Regions from separate parts of the Homo sapiens genome. Here region 1 is linked to region 2. The links are contacts of gene promoters, found by promoter capture Hi-C in human tissues and cell types (Jung and others, 2019). All regions are on one chromosome and are shown on one strand. The core of a region is centred on a gene start or on the middle of the fragment in contact, and the rest is flanking DNA. Distances in the headings are between cores, read along the strand shown. Region 1 overlaps ADGB (androglobin). Region 2 holds the start of ADGB (androglobin).

What was found. Contacts are between HindIII fragments. The study calls those that stand out against the background at their distance.
Region 1: a contact is called between a fragment that was not itself captured here and the fragment with the promoter of ADGB in region 2, in 4 of the 25 tissues and cell types used here (bladder, dorsolateral prefrontal cortex, mesenchymal stem cells and 1 more).

What each region holds. Positions count from the first base shown.
Region 1 is chr6:146,662,244-146,667,039 of GRCh38, forward strand. ADGB (androglobin) reads left to right here. Exons shown (of 36, transcript NM_024694.4): 6 at 1,958-2,097; 7 at 4,573-4,659. Among named protein-coding and RNA genes, the nearest start is that of ADGB, 66 kb to the left of the region's middle. The HindIII fragment of the contact is 5,946 bases long and covers 1-4,796 here.
Region 2 is chr6:146,595,624-146,600,265 of GRCh38, forward strand. ADGB (androglobin) reads left to right here and starts at 3,349. Exons shown (of 36, transcript NM_024694.4): 1 at 3,349-3,491. The coding sequence starts at 3,418. ADGB-DT (ADGB divergent transcript) reads right to left here and starts at 3,308. Exons shown (of 3, transcript NR_125860.1): 1 at 3,210-3,308; 2 at 2,447-2,548; 3 at 1-881. RefSeq lists a silencer at 3,150-3,444. The HindIII fragment of the contact is 7,954 bases long and covers 1-4,642 here.

The DNA of each region.
Region 1 (4,796 bases), core at 733-3,232, 65 kb after region 2:
CTTTTTTTCAGTGGCAACAATGACATGAATATTATATCTTTTTGCATTATCCGCACAGGTCCCTGAGCCTTATATGATTGTTGATACTATATTTTCCTGTTATTCGTAATTTCTATTGATCTAATGTCCAGTTCACTAATTTCTATGCTATCTGCATTCTGCTATTGATCTCATCAATTGAGAGTTGCTTTTTAGTTTAATTTTAAGCTTAAAATTTCTATTTTTATGCCTTTATATCTTCCATTTCTTTGCTGAGAGTTTCTATTTTTGAATTTGTTTCAAGAGTGTTCATAATTGCTTGTTGGAACATTTTTGTGAGAATTGCTGTAAATTTCTTATTTAATAATTCTAATTTCTCTGTCATTTTGGTTTTGTGGCCTGTCGACTGTATTTTCCCATTGAAATTGAGACTTTTCTGGGTTTTGGTATGATAGGTAATTTTATACAGTTTCCTGAATATTTGTAGTGTTATGTTTTACAACTCTGATTGCTAATTAGTTTTATATTTTAGCAAGTAGTCAACGTGTTTAGATTCAGAAGGCACATCCTGGCTCACATTTATCGGCTGTGTCTCAAATGCCAGTTTAGTTTATAAAGCCTCTGATGTACTATTCTGGTCTGCCACTTTTGTTTGCTACCCAGATAATAAGACTTCATTCCACAATCTTCTTATATATAATATATATATAACTTAATAATGTTATATATTACACATATAAATATATATGTTATAATGTATATAATATATATCTTAATCTTAATAATATATATCTTCATAATTTTATATAATCTTAATAATATAGATCAAAATAATCTTATTATTAAGGTCATATATTTATATAATTATATAAATATGTAATTATAGTATAAATATAATAAATATATAATTATATATATAATTATAAATATATAATATATATTTATTATATATTATATATTATATATAATAATATTAAGGTTTTTTATATATATATAAGTATATATAACCTTAATAATATTAGTCTTGTAACAACTAAGGCTACTATACCAGAATACTATAGACTGGTGACTTATAAACAGCAAGAATTTATTTTTTATATTTCTGGAGGCTGGGAAGTGTGAGATCAAGGCACTGGTAGATTTGGTGTCTGGCAAAGCCCTGCTCCCTGGTTCATAAATGGCTGGCCATTTTCTTGCCATAAAATTCCATGGTGGAAGAGAAAAACTTTGGTTTCTTCAACTTCTTAAAAGGGCACAAATCCCATTCATGAGGGCTTTACCCTCCTTTTTACCTAATTCTATCACTTTGGGCATTAGGATTTCAACACATGAATTTTGGGGAGAAACATTCTGTATGTATACACACATAGACACATGCACGCAAACGTATTTTTTATATGTTCAGGATAGATATGTTCAATATAGATATACATGTTCAGTAATCATACAGTATTTATCCTTTTGCATCTGGCTTATTTCTCTGTGGTTTCTTGTTGATCAAGAAATTAATTAGGAGCAGGAATAATATGAGAATTGGAAGTGTAAGATCAGTGAGGATACATCAAGATAAGCAATAATTACTAAAGTTATATTTGGAGAATTTGTATTTTGACTATGTTAAGTTATTTGATTATGTCCAAGCTTATCCATGGTTGTATAATGTTTTGGTTCTGGTCCTTGAAACACCTCAATTTCCTGCATTATGCAGTAAGGGACTCCCAAGACTTTGTTCACAAGACCTCATAAGTAAAGACAATATTGATATAGACATGGGTGAGCTGTGATTATGCTAAATAAAGCAATAAGCTAACATATTCAACCAGAGTAGTATTGAAATCCAGTATCTCCGTCTTTCAGTGTAAGATGCTAAAATAAAATTGGAAAACGGTAAATAGTAATGTCAGCCACGTGCAATCATTTACGAGAGAAAAGACTGTAAGCCATTGATGGTATTACATTTCTTTCATCTTATTTTTAGGGTTGCTGGAGAAAGATAACAATTGATGACTTTTTGCCTTTTGATGAAGATAACAATCTATTGCTTCCAGCTACAACTTATGAATTTGAACTGTGGCCAATGCTTTTGTCTAAAGCTATTATCAAGCTGGCAAATATTGAGTATGTAATGACACTATCACTCACATGAATAAAAAAAGCAAACAAAAACATTAACTATACATTTGTATTGCATAATTTATTTTTTTAAAATTAGCTAAAAGACAGCTTTTTCCCCTAAACAATGTAATGCTCTAGTATAAAATCAAATACGCCAAAACCACTGATTTTTTCTATTAGGTTAACAATAATGCAAAATTCCTCCAAGAAAAATATACCCAAGAATTATTCTATGTTCAGTGCTGTCTTACTATGAATGGAAATTTGATCATGGAAAATGATGTTTTGTTTAATAGGAGAAAAAATTGTTTTGTGGGAGAAAAATATTGGTTCATCTAAATACTGAATAATATATCCTGAAATCTAGTTAAAGATTTAGGTTCTGTATATGCAGCAATAATTTACTAATCTTGAAAAACCTGAACTTTTCTGAAAGATGTCAATGTACGCTTCATGATTTTGGTAACATTGCTCACTTTTGATACATTCATGATGAAAACTACTCATATTTTCTTCAGTATTCTTACAAAATTGGTTTCTGTCTTATATTCCTGCCTGACTTGTGCACCAACATATATGAGACACATCTGCTATGTGCTATTCCCTCAGCTTACACTTCCAGAGAAAAGGAGTCATACCATCCTGGCCCTAACAATGCAAAAAATCTTTGATGATCGTGTTGGAAATGCATGGCAATTTTGCCTCATTGCTCACTGGAAGATGCTCACATACATTGCACAGGCTGGGATTTTATACACGTCCACCTCCTGCAGTTTGTCAAAGATTCTCGATATTTAACAGGACACACCCACATGCTTTAACAGTACATGTTAGAGATTTGCTCACAGCTCAGCCCCCTCCCCTTCTATAAACATTGCAATGTTAGTCAGAAGTCAGGCCTGCTTTGTGTGGATTTTCTTTAGGCACAGCTTCATTTTTCTCTCCCAAGGCTACAAAACAAAAACAACCACTCCTACTGCCATCCTCTTCATATCTGTTTTTTCCTTACCAGCCCTCAGTTTTCCTTTGGGAATTAGTTTCACCCAGCTTTTAGCACTTAATTGCAATGATTTTCATAAAAACTCAGCCCAGATCTTTGTAGGTAGCTGAATAGCACTAAGTATTCATACCGGTGGCATGTTCATTTATTTGGGAAAAAAAAATGTTCTGAATGTTTCTAGTTCTCAGACATAACTTGAAGTTCTGAGAATCAGAGCTGCTAGAGCAGTGAGGCATTGAATACATGACCTGGATAATTGGAGTGGTATTTTATCTTTCTTAAAGCTGTAGTTCAGTAGAAATTTATAGCAACATAAGTATTAGGGTTATTATTATTGTTTAAAAAATCCAATTAGTAAATAAAGCAACAAGCTAAGTGTAATACATTTCTTGGGAATTCTGGTGGAAAGTTTCCCTACATGGTACAATTTATATTTTTCCATAATTTTTTTCAGATTTTTACAGTACATAGTGATTGCTTTTATATGAGGATTAGCTTACTACATTTTCCAAATTAACACATAGTAATTTCAATGTCAATGTGAGATATGCACAGAAAAGAGCATTATTTCTATTTGATTTGCAAAGTCACTTCATAAATTTGTCCAATGAGGAGTTTAGACTAGTCTGGGATCTATCCCAATAGACACTTATTATCTTTGAAATACGTAGACATATAGAAATTTGTAATCCATAAACAACAAAACAGTGCACATTTTAAAATAATGGCATATGTGACTAAGATAGTAAGATTTCTTTCTGAAGAAAGGCACACATGTGTTGGTAATGCCATTAACACTACCACTGACGGATAGTCAGCTGAAGCCGTGACTCCCGGGCAGAAGGGAGATATGGCATTTTTGCATGTAAATGTAAATAGACTAATAACTTCAGGGAAAAAAATAAGAGGTCTAAATGAGAATAGTGATACTTGGTTAATCATATCCTCGTTTTACTTTATGCTAAGCTGACAGATCCACTCTTCTGTACAGGACAGAACAGATGTTTCTGGTTTCTCCACAGTTATCTAAGGATTTCTGATGCCCATCTTGACTTGCCATAGATGAGACTGATCTAACACACAGCTTCAAAGACATCTTAAAATAATTACTGAAATCAGAATGATAAAAGAGACTGTTCTGTTTTTAAAAGAAGTATACAAAAATGGATTATATTCTAATTATATATTTCATAATATATAATGTGAATATATTTCATGTATATAGCATTAATATTACTTTTAGATCTTAAAAAATAAAGCATATAAACATGCCTTGCAAATACAAATGAAATTAATTATATTATAAATCCTACTTCAGTGTTTTAACAAATAATTTGGCTTCTGGGATAGTATTTTTTAATACAGTCTATAATGAATAATCAGAATATATTGCTGTTTATTAATGATTCCTAGTTCTTATATATCTTTATGTGTTTTCAAATTTTGCTACCTGTAACATTATGCATGTTCTTTTTTAGCATCCATGTAGCAGACAGGAGAGAGCTGGGGGAGTTCACGGTTATTCATGCGCTCACAGGATGGTTACCAGAAGTCATTTCTCTTCAGTATGTTTGACTATTAAATTGCTCATATCTATTTTTTTTATCTTCCCAAGATTTCTTTAAAATATTCCTAGCCTTTAAGAAAATTTCAAGAAAGGTCATGTTTTGCAAAATTTGGGGGAAAATATCGTTTTGTAGTA
Region 2 (4,642 bases), core at 2,099-4,598:
GTGAATGAATTTGGTAGAAGAGGAGTTTTTGCTTTGAGTGACCCTACAGTCTAGTAAAGGAGAAAAAACAAGGCATAAGTATTAATAAAAACAAGACAGAATATTATAGGAATTTTAAAAGATGAACAAATAAAGTTCTGTGGGAAATAAAGGAGAAGGGTGTAAATTTCCATGGAAATGTGAAAAGAACAGAACTTGAAGTGACAGTTAAATTCAACCTTACACAGAACATGTAGAATGCATACTTTCTCATTTGGCTGGTTAAATTCCAAGTAATTTTATAATTGACCTAATTGCAAAGAGGTAGCTGAGCAGCAAAATATATACAATTCCCTATGGCTGTGGAATCAAGTGTCTGAAGATGGAGTTATGGATTTAAGAAACAGAAATGCTGCCACTCTGCCCACCCCTGCCATCTCCCACCCAGTTCCCTCCATCTAGGATTCCCATTGGTGGAGGGAGAAGTGGTTGCCAATTCTCACTTCCCTATTTAGGCAGATCCTCAAGCAGAGAGACTCCTGCCTGTTTTGTTTCTGCTGATATGGGGAAGTGGGTACCTCTAACCACTTCCCTAGGGAGCAGGCGCTACTGCTGCCTGAAGCCAAATATCTCTTCCCCGAAAAGGAAGTATAGATTAGAGAGAGGCCCTATTCTGGGTAGCTTGAATAAAATATAAGCCCTGTTTCTCAGTCTTTGACAGTTGTTAAATAGCAAGAGTTTGGAAATCCCTAAGCTCAGTCCCAGGGCAATCATCTGTATGGACAGTTAGTCCAGAGAATTGGAGAGAGCACAGGTTATGGAGTGGCCAATCTTCCTCTGCCACCTACCACCTGCTCCATGTCAGGCAAGTCCCATTTCCTGTCTGCATTTCAGTTCTTTACCTGTGGAATAATAACATTAGCTATAATTCTCTGAATGCTTGGGATGAGTCAAGCATATTTGAGGTATTATTCTTCCCTTTCCACAAATAAAGAAAATGGAAGTTAAATAACTCACCCATAATTACCCAACAAGAGTCAGGATTTAAATTCAAGTTTATCTCTAAAGGAGTTAGCACCCTTCCCTAAACCTTGCATGTAGTAGGTACTCAATAAATCACAGCTATTATTATTATTATTCCAAAGTGACATTGACAACAGTTATAAGAAAAATAAAAACAGCAGTAGGACCTATTGTCTTTTTTGCACTGCCACAATAAATATCATGTTAAGCTTTGTAGCTAGAACTATCTTAGAGAGGAACAGATTTGCTCTTATAATTACAGCCTGACCAGAACCTTAGCTCCAGAAAGAAGAGAAATTCCATTTATGCATGTTGCACTCTTAATATAATAAAGGAGAAAGAACACTGGCGTAGGAATTAATAGGCAACTTATACTCGTCACATCTTTTATGATTATCTTATTCCATTCTGGTGACAACCCCCTTACTTTATCCTAATTTAATAGATGTTTAAAAAGCAAGCTCTGAGTGGAGTAGTGATATGTTTGGCTTAAACTGGCAATGCTGACTTTAATGTGTTTAGTCCAAATTCCATCAATAAATAACCCAGCAACTTTTGGCAAGACATTTTGCTTGTCTTCGCCTGGAGTTATTTGTCCATAAAATACCGGTGGGATGTAGATCTTTTGATTTCTAAGGCTTATCTTCCCTAATTCTTTTGGCATCTTGCAGCCATTAACAATGGCTGCAGGATAGCCCTTGTTCAAGAAGAAACTCACCTCTCTGTGGGGTTGGCTGCTTAAAGTTGTGCTGTTTTCAGCCAAGAGTCTTTGTATATACTTATAGCTATAAATTTGATTACTCTGACAAAATTTGGTAGTAAATAATTTTTCTCACCATTTAGTCCTCTACTTTCATTCAAGAGAGTTCTCTGGAAATTTGAATTATGGTATAAACAAAGCAGAATCTTCATGATGTGTTCATTGTCTTTACATATATAGGAGATGTTTGCAGGGCAGTCTTGTAGTCATAATATTAACACTGCTGACTTGGAATTTATTTATTTTGCATATAGAAATACAACGAAGGGGCTGTCTGTCATCTAGGTAACCCCCAGTAGTAATCCAATAGTAATAAGATTGGGATAGTCTGACAAACCATAGGCTATGCTGAGTGGAGAGCCCTGAGCATTCATTTGTCAGAGAAGTTGAAAGATTTTCTCTGCAGGAAGCTGCCTCTTGCCTGCACAGGTGGAACTGTGAGCATGTGCCCAGTCCCATGAGTGGAGGGGATTTCTTTTATTTAAAGATACTTAACTATTTCTAGGCTCATGAAAGACACCAACCAGTAGTAGTGGTCCTAGGCCTAAGGGCTGTGTGTCAGATATCTCTGAAGTGAGGTTATATTGAACCAACACAATATTTTGTTTTGTTTTGATAAATTTGCAAGCTCTTGCAGTCTAAGCATGTCTCAGTTAAGCATAGTATCCACTACTCTGTATTTACCTGGCCAACTTCATTCATTCACGCTGTCTGCTGCTCCTCGAAACCAGGTGGTCTGTCATCTCTGAAAGAGTGGCTCCTATTTGCTGCGCTTTGCATCTTATCCTCAAAACAGAACTGTGAGTTAGGTATAACTCCTATTTATAAGTGAGTAATAGGCATCTCCTATTTATAAGTGAGTAAACTGAGACTCAAAGGGAAAAACTAGCCCAAGGCAAGATAACTAACAAATCACCACTGATGACTGAGCCTTAAGCCTGCGCCCTAATAAGTTTCATTTTACTTGGTTCTGTCTGTGTCATCTGGCCCCTGGACCTTTTCTGGAAAGTCTGCAAAGGACCACCTGAGCCCATGACTTGGACTCACTCTTTCATTCGAACAACAAGACACCTTATTGGTTTTATTACAGATATCATCACCTAGCCCTCAGCGACTCAAGGTGTCATTATTTTGCCTTCCTTACACCCACTGTGTTAATTTCTGGACCCCAGGTTTTCAAGCCATTGACAATTTCAGCGTGTCTGTAATGTCTCCTTAGTAATTATTGAAGGTACTTGTTATATTTAGCCAAGAGAATAACTGGGGTGGTACTAGGATAACATCTACGTTCAAATAGTTGGATATTCAAGAGTCGATATATGTCTATGGTTCCGAAGGGCAAAGCCAGGCAGTGTAGGTCCTGCAGAACTCCAATTAATCAGGGCTGCCCAGTAATCCTAATGCCAAACCCGTGCCCCAGAACCTCGATTTCTCCCCAGACACCAACTCCAAGTTCCTCCACGGGGATGTGGGATTTCAGTTTATGCTCTTGCGTCCCTCTGCAGCCACAGGCCGCAGAGCCCGCCCCCAGGGCCCCGCCCCCGCTCTCCGGGCGCTGGACGCGGGACGCCGTCTCCTGGCAACGCAGACGCGGAGCCGAGCGCGCCCGCAGGCTCTTTGCTCAGAGCTCAGCCCTACATAGATCGGCTTCTGCCATGGCCTCCAAACAAACCAAAAAGAAAGAGGTGCATCGTATCAACTCGGCGCACGGATCGGATAAATCGAAAGAGTAAGGGACCTCTGCCTGTCCGTCCCTCCCCTGGCCTAGCCCCTCGACCTCACCACTAGTTCTGGGGCTGCCTCCCTGCAGCAAACTGTGCCAGGGCAGAAGTTTAGTGGCCTCCTCGCAGCTTGTCTTCTCTGGTAAACCAGATCCTGGAGGTGCTCGCTCTCATCCTTCTCTCTTGCTTGTCTTGACTCACTTCCTTTCCCAGAGCCCCTGATTTTCTTGCTTTGGGTGTTCAGCTCCCATGGGTGAATCTGCCACCCCTCCTCTTCTTCATAGCCCTCTCAGGCAGTTAGAAAGGCCATAGCTTTCCTAAGAAAGAGGCATATCTCAAATACTTCTGGTTAAAGCCACATCTTCATGGCCCCGGAAATGATACAGACAGCGAGTGACAGACAGACATGGACACATTTCACCTTAATGGTGATTTTCTAGTTTGCATCTGCCCAGTCCAACGACTACGATCTTTAATCAGATATAGTCAGACGTAAAGTGGCTTCTAAACCTTAAAACATTATAAATGTATAGTTCATGTTACTAACATTTACTCTGAGAAAGTAAACAGACCCTCGCTCATGGAATTTTTATGGTGCCTTTGTCCTGGGCTGGTGTTAGGTGTTGTGTCTTAGGATGTACTTCCCCATGATTATTATTTTCTGTGGTCTGTTTCCCTAGGGATATCCAGTTATCCACAGCATAGGATTGGGGCTGTTTGAACTTACACCATTTCTAATGTTCATTCCCACTGTGAGAGAATCCCAGCTGCCCGCCCTGCTTCAGTGGGATCATTCATGTTCTTCATGCTCTGCCTGATGGGGAGGGCGATGCAATCAATCATTTCAAATTGAATTCTTACATCCTTGATGCCTGTTTCTCCATTTCCTTCCCTGGCTGAAGAATTCCACATTGGACTGATCCCTATGATTCACTGATCCCTAGGATTTAAACTCTTTTTCTTTGTGAATTCTTCTCCCAGACTCATTCCCATGTCTGTGAATCTCTAGTCCCTTAGTTCTAACCTCTCTCATAAGCAGGTTTCCAGTTACCCGGCAGATAATCCATTCCTTTTACTAGCTTAAATTTTAGATATTACATATATAAGTAATATTACATATATAATTTTATATAAATATTACATATGTAATTTTAATAGG